Linked DNA regions of Homo sapiens: all the other regions are linked to region 3. The links are contacts of gene promoters, found by promoter capture Hi-C in blood cells and fetal thymus (Javierre and others, 2016). All regions are on one chromosome and are shown on one strand. The core of a region is centred on a gene start or on the middle of the fragment in contact, and the rest is flanking DNA. Distances in the headings are between cores, read along the strand shown. Region 1 overlaps EVC2 (EvC ciliary complex subunit 2). Region 2 overlaps EVC2 (EvC ciliary complex subunit 2). Region 3 holds the start of STK32B (serine/threonine kinase 32B).

What was found. Contacts are between HindIII fragments. The CHiCAGO score rates a contact against its expected background, and 5 or more counts as called.
Region 1: a fragment that was not itself captured here is called in contact with the fragment with the promoter of STK32B in region 3 in 1 of 17 cell types (M2 macrophages); the score reaches 5.2 in M2 macrophages.
Region 2: a fragment that was not itself captured here is called in contact with the fragment with the promoter of STK32B in region 3 in 1 of 17 cell types (M1 macrophages); the score reaches 5.6 in M1 macrophages.

The regions. Positions count from the first base shown.
Region 1 is chr4:5,659,198-5,663,067 of GRCh38, reverse strand. All of the region lies in intron 9 of EVC2 (EvC ciliary complex subunit 2), which reads left to right. Among named protein-coding and RNA genes, the nearest start is that of EVC2, 47 kb to the left of the region's middle. The HindIII fragment of the contact is 3,023 bases long and covers 834-3,856 here.
Region 2 is chr4:5,678,769-5,682,328 of GRCh38, reverse strand. EVC2 (EvC ciliary complex subunit 2) reads left to right here. Exons shown (of 22, transcript NM_147127.5): 7 at 1,016-1,069. Among named protein-coding and RNA genes, the nearest start is that of EVC2, 28 kb to the left of the region's middle. The HindIII fragment of the contact is 248 bases long and covers 2,148-2,395 here.
Region 3 is chr4:5,050,104-5,054,080 of GRCh38, reverse strand. STK32B (serine/threonine kinase 32B) reads right to left here and starts at 2,601. Exons shown (of 12, transcript NM_018401.3): 1 at 2,166-2,601. The coding sequence starts at 2,217. RefSeq lists an enhancer at 1,361-1,899. The HindIII fragment of the contact is 3,285 bases long and covers 1,389-3,977 here.

The sequences.
Region 1 (3,870 bases), core at 1,096-3,595, 610 kb before region 3:
TGAATGTTTTAACGACAGTGACATAAGGCCAAATGCTGAGTATATTTCATTCATTCAGTTAATCATTTGTCACTCTGTAGTCATAATTCAACAACTGCTATGCACTGAATGTTTGGCATCTAGGAAAAGAGGTGTAGATGACATACTTCCTGCTCTAAGGAAGTCTGATCTAGTAGGAAAGACTGAAACATAAACAGAAGTGACCACAGAATTGGGTGACCACCATGCAAATGGGAAGGTCAGGGCCGGCAGAGCACAGAAGAGGAAGTAATTACTTCTGAGAAAGTCACAGAAATGCTTCCTGGAGGAGGTGGCATTGAACTAATTATTTCAATAATTATTGGATAATTATTGAATAATTATTATTTTAATAATTATATTTAATATTATATTTATATTTAATATCAATATAAATATAATTAATATATTATATTTTAATATAATTAATCTAAATATATTTAAATATAATTAAAATAAATATGATTAATATAAATATATATTATATTTAATATATTTAATATTAATATTATATTTAATATATTTAATATTAATATTATATTTAATATATTTAATATTAATATTATATTTAATATTATATTAATAATAATTATTGAATAATTAGTTTATTCAATAAACTATTGAACTAATAACAATTTTTTTATTTATTTTTAACTTTTAAGTTTAGGGATATGCGTGTAGGTTTGTTATATAGGTAAACTCGTGTCACAGGGGGTTTGTTGTACAGATTATTTCATCATCCAGGTATTAAGTCTAGTACTCATTAGTTAAGAGGGAGAGAATCTGAATTGATTCTGAAAGCTTATGAAGAAGCTTTCCAAGTTGATTAAGCGTGGAAACGATTTTCAGACAGAGGAAAGAAAGGGCAGATGTAAGGACGTGAAAGGAGCAAGGTGCGTTTGGTGAGATGTCAGTAGCCAAGTGTGGCTGATGTGCAGATTGGGGTATTGAGTATAGAAAATAAAGAAGAGGCAGCAGGGGAGAGAGGCCAGACCAGGTGATGTGAGTGTGTACTGAACTGAATTCAGTTCTTCTTATGTAGTTAATGAATATTAACATCATCCTCCCTATGTGCAATAGCAGATAGTGCCAGACACTGTTTAAGAACTTCACAGAACTAACTCGTATAATCCTCTTAACAAGCCCATGAAGTAGGTATTGCTCTCTGTAACATCTTATGGATGAGAACTGGAGAGAGGTTAAGTAACTTGCCCAAGGGCATATACTAGTAAATGATAGGGTCAGGTTTTAAACTCAGGTCATCTGCTCCATGGTCCAGGCTTTTAATCATTGCCCAAGATTTCTCCTGGATGGACACATGGGTCACAGTCTAATAGATAACCTTAACTAGATGAGGTTCATCAGCATGGCCTTGTCGTTCCTTCTTTCCTTTCATCAGATATTTAAGATGACTTCTTTATGTTTTCTTTAATTTTCCGTTGTTTTGGCCAAAAATCTCAATCTTATTTTTTTATTTACTCTCAAACAAAATTATTTTGAAGTGTCTGACTGAAGACGTTATTATCTGTACCCTCGTTCTGTGTCTGTTATCTAGAGTACCACTCAGTTTTTGATCATATTTTCTTGTCTCATATCTCTGTGTATTTTTGATTATGTGCTAGACATTGTATAGGAAGTTGAGAAGACAATCTGAGGACGAGGGTGATGTTATCTTCTTCTAAGTGGCTAGCAACATAATTATGGATTATATTAATCCAGTCAGAGATTGAGATCATTCAAAGCTGGGCTTCATTTCTCCCAGATCAAATTCTTATTTGGTTATATCTGATGATTTTTATTTTAACATTCTTTGCTTTCTTGGTAGACTGCTGATGATTAATAATGGGGCCAAATGTGAACCCTTCAAATTGGATTCCATTTACAGGAAACTTTTTTTATTCTAGATTAAAGATGTGTGGCTTTCTGCCCACTCACTACCCACTGGAGGGTAATTTGTGTGAATTTGGAATCATCAAGATGACAATAAACTGTAATGCCTTATGTTTTCAGATAAAATACCTTATGTTTATGTCACATTTAGAAATGTGCACACCCCTTATTTAATTTGGTGCTCATGTCACGCCCCTTATTTAATTTGGTACTGCTTTTTGGTATGGCATCTTATTTTCAGTGTTTGATAGTTGAAGCAGCTGAGGCTCAGCTAGGCTGAGAGGTTTACCCACAGTGATACATCTGGTGAGTGAAGAATGGGACTTGAGCTTCCTCACTATTTAGGCTCAGGCACATTTATATTTTACAGACATTCTCTGAGCCTAGTTTTCTCATCTCTCAAATGGGGAACCCGTAACCTAGAGCCTTTTGATACTGTCATGTGTAATGATGTGAAAGAGACTTGTGATGGGGATGCATCCTTATGGTGATAGCTGCCTGTGAGCCCTGGTCAGATTAGCAGACCATAAAGAGAAGTGGTCAGGGCGAGTAGCCCTTCCTTGAGTCTTTCTCAAGAGAATTGAAAGCATACTGAAAATGGGAGATCTGGGAAGCAAAACTGAGCAGCTTCCTGATCCTATCTCCCTGGGTCCAGGAAGTGGTGTCCTGTGACACAAAGAGGTAGATCCTAGGTAGAACCAGAAACAGCTCTGGCTCATCCTTTTCAGGAGCAACTACTTAACTGGCCTGAGAGAAGAGCTCTGCTAGGTCTGACTCATGCCACTTTGTGAGCTCAATGACTGTTCTCAGAAGAAAGGGACTCTCCTCTGTTTTGAATGGGTGCTCCTTCCTCACAGAGTGCCTGGTGAAGAGCCAGGCTTGGAGCCTCGTAAGTGCAGGGCTGACCTTGCACCAAGAGGGGAGTCAGGGCTTGTTAATCCATTTCTGGGTGCCAGAGTTGTGTGGCTTGGTTAATTAAGCCTTGTGCAGCCATCCAGATGCCATTCTTCATTTTCACTTAACTCCCTAATCAGAATGGCAAGGATTACAAATTAAAATTTGCCACCTTGTCTGAAGTAGTAGGGAGAAATGGACGAGCAATGGGAGACGAAGTTATTGGCAGAGGTTCATAAATGTCACTTATTATATTAAGTGATGTGAGCAGCTAATTATCAAATGATTTCAGAGCTAAAAGTCTGTTTTCTTACAAAACATGAAAATGAAAAGTAGAGTGAAATGATTTGGATCATGCAATCAGCACCCGGATATTTAATTTGCAAGTATGTGGTACTCTATAACCTTCTGACTAAAGTAATTAGTACTTTAAAAGAGGAAAGTATTAATCCTCCTGTTTTTGTTTTTTATTCAAAAAGTGATGGGGCATAAGAAGCCGAGTCTTTCTTTATCCCTACATTATATGAAATTATAAGCAGCTGCTGCAGTTTGCCAGTCCTGATGCTTGAGTACAATAGGAATGTTGAAGTTTATAATGATTTTGTTCTTGCACCTCTGGAATTATATATTCATTTCTCTTGGGAGCTTGTCTTATTTTGCCTGAAGAGTGTTTAGCATTGATTATCAAGCATGCACGGAGAGTGTTCAGCTTGTGAGCTAAATTCATTCCTCTCTTCCTCTCCCCCAGCCTCCCATCCTCCCTCCCGTCCCAACATTCAATATTTATTGAACTCCAATTCAGTTTCAGGCATTGTGGTTGGACACTAGTTTTAAGAACCCAGTCTTTTTTTTTTTTTTTTCAATTATAGCATTGCCAATTACTTTTAATCTTTCCATCTTGCTCTGTGGTCCTGCTTAGATGCTCCCAGAAAGAAAATGTCACTCAGAATGGCAGGAGCTTAGTATGCATGGAAATCTGTGATACACTTCCCACTAAAAATAGCATTTTTCTCTGGCAAATCAGTTATCGCATTTGTAATTCTAACATGAAGCTTAGCTGGGATTCGA
Region 2 (3,560 bases), core at 1,022-3,521, 630 kb before region 3:
AGTAGAGATGGGGTTTCACTACATTGGCCAGGCTGGTCTTGAACTCCTGACCTCAGGTGATCCACTTGCCTTGGCCTTCCAAAGTGCTGGGATTACAGGTGTGAGCCACCGCCCCCGGCCTGCTATTGCTACTACTGCTGCTGCTGCTGCTAATGTTACTACTACTACCTACAGCCACCAATAGCAGTAATATTTTATAGCATTCCCTAGTGCCAGGCACTCTTCAGGGTTCTATATTACCTAAGTTAATCTTCATAGCAATTCTGTGAGTTGAATATGATTACCATTTCACAGATGAGAAAACAGAGGCACAGAGAGGCTAATACCTTGCCCAAGGTCCAACTGCTGGTGAGCAGTGGGGCCCTGTATGAACTTAGACAGCCTGGCCCTAACCACCACCCTATAGACAGCCTGTCAGTGGCAAGCTATTCTGCCTTTACCCCCAGGAAGAAGTATGTTCTCACGGTGGGTCTTGTCGGTCACCATGCGGTTAGACAGGTGGATACCATGACACACTTTATTTTTCTGTTTCCTGTATCTTCTCAGCAGAGGAATATTAGAGAGCATTAGGAATAGACCCACAGCGGGTTGGGGCTTGGAGAATCAAGTGCGTTTGAGTGAGAGAAGAACACGTGCAGTGCAGTCAGAGCCCAGGATTCCATCTACCTCTGTGAAGGAGGCAGACGCTGGGAGAGTGGAGGTGACCTGCCTTGGTCACAGGCTTGGAGTCAGTGCCCAACCCCAAGCGTTTCTCCACAAGGGCATGCTGCCATGACTTTCTCTGGATGTTAGCGAAGCTGGTGTTTGGATTTCACACGGCCTCCAGTAGAGAGGGAGGGATCCTATCCCCAAAGCCCCTTCCTCCTGATGGTGAGACCTTCACAAGCTCTGACCTGTGCAGCAGTTAGGGCTGATTGTAGCTCCAGGCTTGGAGGGTTGGAAATCGCACCAAATGTTATCCCACGTGTCAGACCCCAAACTGTTGCTGAAAGTGTTTTCTTTTTTCCTTTTCTAGAACAGAACACAGCTGAAAGTGCTTTTTTCCATAACAGCAGAAGAAAACGTAACGGTAAGAGACATGACATGCCCTGAGCACCCTCAGGACACACCTGTGCTGTGTGGGTCCTGCCTGTCCTTGGAGCCATGGGGAGCGGCCAGCTGCTGGCCTTGGTCCCCCAGTTATGCGTTGAGACTGGGACTCTGTGCAGTCTCTCGGGTCCCCCGTGTGCCCTGAGGCTATCTGACTGGTTTCCCTGGATGACCCTCCACCTGGACAAGGCAGGTAGGCCGTGGGCTGGACAGGCTGAGGCTCCACAGCCCGTCTGTGCTACTGTCCAGTCACGCTCCTACCTATCCCCAGTGTTTGCCACTAGGTCAAGCTGCTGGTGACATTGTGTTTTCCCAGATCTTCCCAAAGCCTGCAGTCTGTGGGGCGGGTCTCTCTGCTTCTGCTCTTCACCATAATACTTCTCCATTTCTGTTCTTCAGTTTAATCATTTGCAGCTCACATGTTCACTCACTCATGTATTCACCAAGTGTTAATTCACCAGGTAACAACACTTCACGTTTCTTAAAACTGGGTGCCAAGCATTCTAAGCAATTTACTTATGTGGAATTATGTCATCTTTACCACAGTCTTGTGAGACAGATTCTATTTTAAAATCTCTGCCATTTCAGATGGGGAAACCGAGGCACATTAAAGTCAAGTGATTTGCCCAGTATCCCATGGCTAGAATGTCAGGGTCCCCAACACCCACCCCCGGGTTCGGTGATTCTCTAGGGTGACTCACGGGACTTACATATACAGTCACGCGCCACATAATGACATTTTGGTGAACAGTGGACTGCATATATGAAGGTGGTCCCGCAGGATTACAATGCAGCTGAAAAATTCCTGTCACCTAGTGATAATGTGGTTGTGTAATATCCATCGTAGCATGGTGCGTTTACTCACCTGTTTGGTGATTCTGGTGTGAAACCTACTGTGCTGCCAATCATAACAAGTCTAGCACATACCATTATGTACAAAACATAATACTTGATAATGACACTAAAAGACTATGTTGCTGGTTTACGTATTTACTATACATACTTTTTATTGTTATTTTAGAGTGTATCCCTTCCACTGATCAAATCCGAAATAAGCTTACCTATAAATCAGCCTCAGGCAGGTCCGTCAGGAGGGATTCTAGAATAAGGCATTGTTATCCTAGGAGATGACAGGTCCATGCCTGTTATTGCCTCTGAAGACCTTCCAGTGGGACAGAGTGTCGGGGTGGAAGGCAGTGATATTGATGATCCTGATGCTGTGCAGGACTAGGCTAATGTGTGTCTTAGTTTTTAACAAAAAGTTTAAGAAGTGTTTTAAAAAAATACCTTAAAAATATAGAAAGCTTACAGAGTAAGGATATAAAGAAAGGAACTATTTTTGTATAGCTGTACAGTGTGTTTGTGTTTTAAGCTGTGTTATTACCAAAGAGTCAAAATGTTAAAAAAAAAATTACAAAGGTAATAAAGTCACAGGGAGGGGAACATCACACACTGGGACCTGTCGGGGGATGGGGGGCAAGGGCAATTACATGTGGGGCTTAAAACCTAGATGACAGGTTGATAGGTGCAGCAAACCACCATGACACATGTATACCTATGTAACAAACCTGCACGTTCTGCATATGTATCCCAGAACTTAAAGTAAAATAAAATAAAATAAAAAATAAAAAATTACAGTAAGCCAAGATTAACTTATTACTGAAGAAACCTGCACAGCATATATTTTTAAAATAAATTTAGTGGCCAGGCATAGTGGCTCATGCCTGTAATCTCAGTACTTTGGGAGGCTGAGGTGGGCTGATCACTTGAAGCCAGGAGTTCAAGATCAGCCTGGCCAACATGGCTAAACCGGTCTTTACTAAAAATACAAAAAAAATTAGCTGAGCATGGTGGTGCGTGTCTGTGATTCCAGCTACTCGGGAGACTGAGACATGCGAATTGCTTGAACCTGGGAGGCGGAGGTTGCAGTGAGCCGAGATCATGCCACTGCACTCCAGCCTGGTTAACAGAGTGAGACTCTGTCTCAACATAAATAAATAAATGTAGTGTAGCCTAAGGGTACAGTGTTTCTAAAGTCTATAGTCGTGTACAGTCATACCCTACGCCTTCACATTCACTCACCACTCACTCACTGACTGGCCCAGAGCAACTTCCAGACCTGCAAGCTCGAGTTATGATACATTTCCTATACGAGTGTATTTTTTTTTTTGTCTTTTGTACATATTTTTCTTTTCTTTCTTTCTTTTTTTTCTTAGAGTCTTGCTTTGTCGCCCAGGCTGGAGTGCAGTGGTACGTTCTCAGCTCACTGCAACCTCTGCCTCCCAGATTCAAGCGATTCTCCTGCCTCAGCCTCCCAAGTAGCTGGGATTACAGGCACCCACCACCACAGCCAGCTAGTTTTTATATTTTTAGTAGAGACGGGGTTTTACCACATTGGCCAGGCTGGTCTTGAACTCCTGACCTCAAGTGATCCGGCCACCTCGGCCTCCCAAAGTGCTGGGATTACAGGC
Region 3 (3,977 bases), core at 1,352-3,851:
AAAATCAAACAAGTTAATGTTTCACTGGGCTGGGCAATGGCAAAATGAGGAGAGCCCTAACCTTATATTTATTTATATTTATTTATTTATTTATTTATTTTGAGATGGAGCTTCACTCTTGGTGCCCAGGCTCGAATGCAATGGTGCGATCTCAGCTCACTGCAACCTCCGCCTCCCGGGTTCAAGCGATTCTCCTGCCTCAGCCTCCTGAGTAGCTGGGATTACAGGTTCCCGCCAACATGCCCGGCTAATTTTTGTATTTTTAGTAGAGTCGGGGTTTCATCATGTTGGCCAGGCAGGCCTCTCCTGACCTCAGGTGATCCGTCCACCTCGGCCTCCCAAAGTACTGGGATTACAGGCATGAGCCACCGCGCCCGGCCTCATAACCTTGTATTTTAACAAGCACCGAAACAGGCAGTTAACCTTAGGCCCAATCTGCTTATAGAATAAGGAACAGGAACAGGAAAATCAAAAGGTTGGCTACACCAGAGATAACTATTTTGCCAATGAATATTTTCAAGCTGGGGATAAATGACAGAGACGGTTTTCAATATAAGGGTGGCAAATTTCCTCTGTAAATAAAAGAGAAAGATGCTAGGAAAATTAGCAAAAGCATGACCTTTGACCCAGGCTAGAACCACAAGCCCGTGCAATTGAGGGTGATGCTGCATAGTGTTCAAACTCTTACTGGGACATGCAAGAGCCTCCATTACCTCTGTGCCCACCTCTCCTCTGTCCACAACTGGCTCCTTACCTGCTCACCTGCACATGCTCCAGACTAAAGATCAGGAAAAGCTGGGGCCTCTCTGTGCCCCCAAGACCCTGCACTGGTTTCTCAATGCCCTTATCACCATGGACGGTCATTCAGGGCCATTAGACTAGGAACTCCTTTAAGGAAGGCTCTCGTGGGCCTGACACAGCAGGTGCTCACTTAACCTTGACTGTGTTCATCTATCTTTTTGAGAAGGGCTGTCCAGGCAGGCATCTGAGTAGCACTCACAGCCTTGGGAGTTCTAGAAGCCATCCATGATGTACGCACACAGCCAGTGCCCTGGGTAATGATGACAGGCACAGCTTTCAAAGCAGACTGTCCTGCCTCAAGCCCAGCTCTACTTCTTACCAGCAGTAACCAGGACAGACCCCTTTCTAAGGTAGCCACCTCAAGGGGCATGAAAAGGATGGAGTGAACACTATGTGCTAGCATGGCTGGAACATAGTAAGTGCTCAGTATGTCTCAGCTCTTACCTGGGGCACAGTGGAGACTGGCGAGTCAGCACAGTAGGAAACCAGCTTTGAGAGGCAGAGGGCTCTTAACATAAAAAACGGCACAGCTCGGTACTGCTTGCATTTATAAGGCACTTTTCACGTGGATTACTAGTGGTTAAGCTTCAAACAACCCTATAAAGTAGCTAGTGGTATCATAACTCACATTTCATTGATGAAGGGACTAATGTTTCAGAGAGGTGAAGTAAGTTTTCCAGGGACACGCTGCACTGGAAAGAGGGTTCTGCTAGTCCAAATAGGGAGCTCTATCGACCTGAACCGCAAGGATCCAGCCAGGAAGTTGAGATGCGGTTGGACAGCCTACACCACTTCTGCGCCAGGGGGAGGCTGCCCAGAACAGGACGCCCTCCTAGGAACCACAGAGTTTAGCAAAGAAAAGTTTCCCTCTGTCCTGGGTGATTGAGGAGAGCTGCATCCAACAGGCCCTTGCACGAGACCAAATGCGTCGTGGGCACGCGCACACACACACAGACACACGGTGCAACCCGCCCTTCCAGGCCACCTCCGTCAGCCTCAGGCTCTCAAGGAAACCTCGGTTTCCTGGGGAGCCCGAGCCTAGAACCATCCCGACTGGCCTCCGAAGTCAACTCCTCCCTTCCACACCCCCAAGTGCAGGTTTCGGGTTCAACTCTCTGAAGCCGCCTCCCCAGTCCCGCGCTAGGCACCGTCCCGACTACTAAACGGCACTGGGTACCTAGGAGTTGCCTCAGCAGAAGCGCCGCGCCTGGCACGGGTCGGGCACACACTGCATTCGCTGGGCGAAGTGGCCATGCCTGGGTCCCCGCGCCGGGCAGCATGCGGTGCCCCGCAGGGCTCGGCCGAGGGTGGTGGAGGAAGGGGATGCCCCGCGAAGCGGGAATTCGCACCTCTCGCTCTCTTACCTTCCTCATTCTCGTCAAACACGGGGGGCTTGTGGGAGTGGTTCCCGCCCATATTCCGCCGTTGCTGCCGCTGCTACATGCCCGGCCGCTGGGATGCCGGATGCGGGATGTGGGACGCGCGCAGAGATGCGGGATGCCGGGGGCGCGCCCAGTCCGGGTTGTAGCCGCGCGCGGAGCCCGAGGGGGCCGAGCACCGTGCAGGGGCGGGGACGGCGTCCCCCTTCTCCTGGACGCCCTTCCGACTGCGCTCGCAGGGACCCCGCTCTCGCCGCGCCTTCCGCCGTGCCCCGCCTCGGGCTGCGCTCGCAGCTCCTTACTCCAGTGCCCGCCCGGGAACCCGGGAGCTCCTCGCGCCGGGGCCAACGTGCGGCGCTCCTCGCCGGCTACAGCGGGCGGGAGACGCGAGGCGGCGCGGGAGCAGGGGAAGGAGGGGAAGGAGCGGGGGAGGAGGGGACGGACGAAGGCAGCACGCAGTGGGCGGCGGCAGGGCGGAAGGAGCTGAGAAAGGGATCGGCCCGGAAGAATCTGAATCCCTGCTCGGCCCTCCTCCCTCGGCCGGGAGCTCGGTCCCTGCAGGCAGTAAGCGGTTTGTCAGCACCCACTATGGCCAGGCCTCGGCTACGCGCTTTGTTAGCACCATCCCACATCCGCCTCCGACAACCCAGCAGTAAGAAAGCATCGTTCATATTTTAGAGCGCAGTAGACGGAGGTCTAGAGGTAGAGGGGCTCTTAGGTCTGTGGTTAGTCGGCCCCGGCTGCGAAGGGAGTCCCAGGACTCCCCGCTAGCCTGTATTTGCCCATTCATATTGGGATGGGCAGTGGAGTGTCTGCTGGCTCTCCAACCGACGCTGTTCCTCTTAAGGTTTTTCTCAGTGTTTAATGAATGAAAGTATCTGTTTACTTTCTGACCCCTTAAGATTAGATACTAATCTGACCCCTTCATTGTACATGGGGAAACTGAGGCCCCAGACAGCCATAGTTTGCCCCAAACCATTCTCCCTGGGAATGGCTGGGCATGAGTCTCGGGATTCCCCCAAAATTGGGCGGCATCGGCGTCCGATTTAGGGGCGAGGCTAGCATGAGGGTCCCTGGGCTCCTGCGGCGGGAGCCTGGATCGGGAGATACGCGCCACAGTTGCGGGTGCCTAAGTAAGGGGTGCGGCAGATGCGCCCCAAGACGTGTGGGGCGAGCGCGGGTTCCCAGGACGCTCCCTGAGGGACAGGCAGGTCCCCCTGCCTTGCAGTCCTGCGGGCCCAGCTCTCCGGGACTGCAGGGAATCTTTGGCTACATCCTGCCATCTGCTGGGCGCCTGGAACCACTGTCCGTGCTTTGATAGAAAGCAGGGGTTCTTTGTGACTCTCTCCATCCTATCTCGTCCCCCAGTCCCCGTCCCCTACCTGGTCTCTCTCTCCAGTTCTCTCCCCTTCTTTCTTTTTCTTGGGAGAAGGGTGAGGGAAGCCGGGGAGACTCATACAGAAACAAAACAAAACAAAACAAAACAAAAAATCTCTTAAAGGCAGTGGGAAAGAACTGAGAAGGTCTGAGGCAGGCCCACCCACCATGACCCAGAGCTGGCTCTACCATTTACTGGCAATGTGTCCCACTTTGGAGTTCTTATCTGCAAAGTGGGCTGATTGATATTAACTCCTTGGGTTGTCTGTGAGAATTATATCAGGTAATATTTATAAAAGCAGGCAACAGTGCCCGGCATATAATAAATGATGAATAAATATTTCTTGCCTTTCATTCCACCAACAAGCATACACTGAGTAGCCAGTGTGCAGCAGGCAATGCCCTGAACACAGAGCTGGC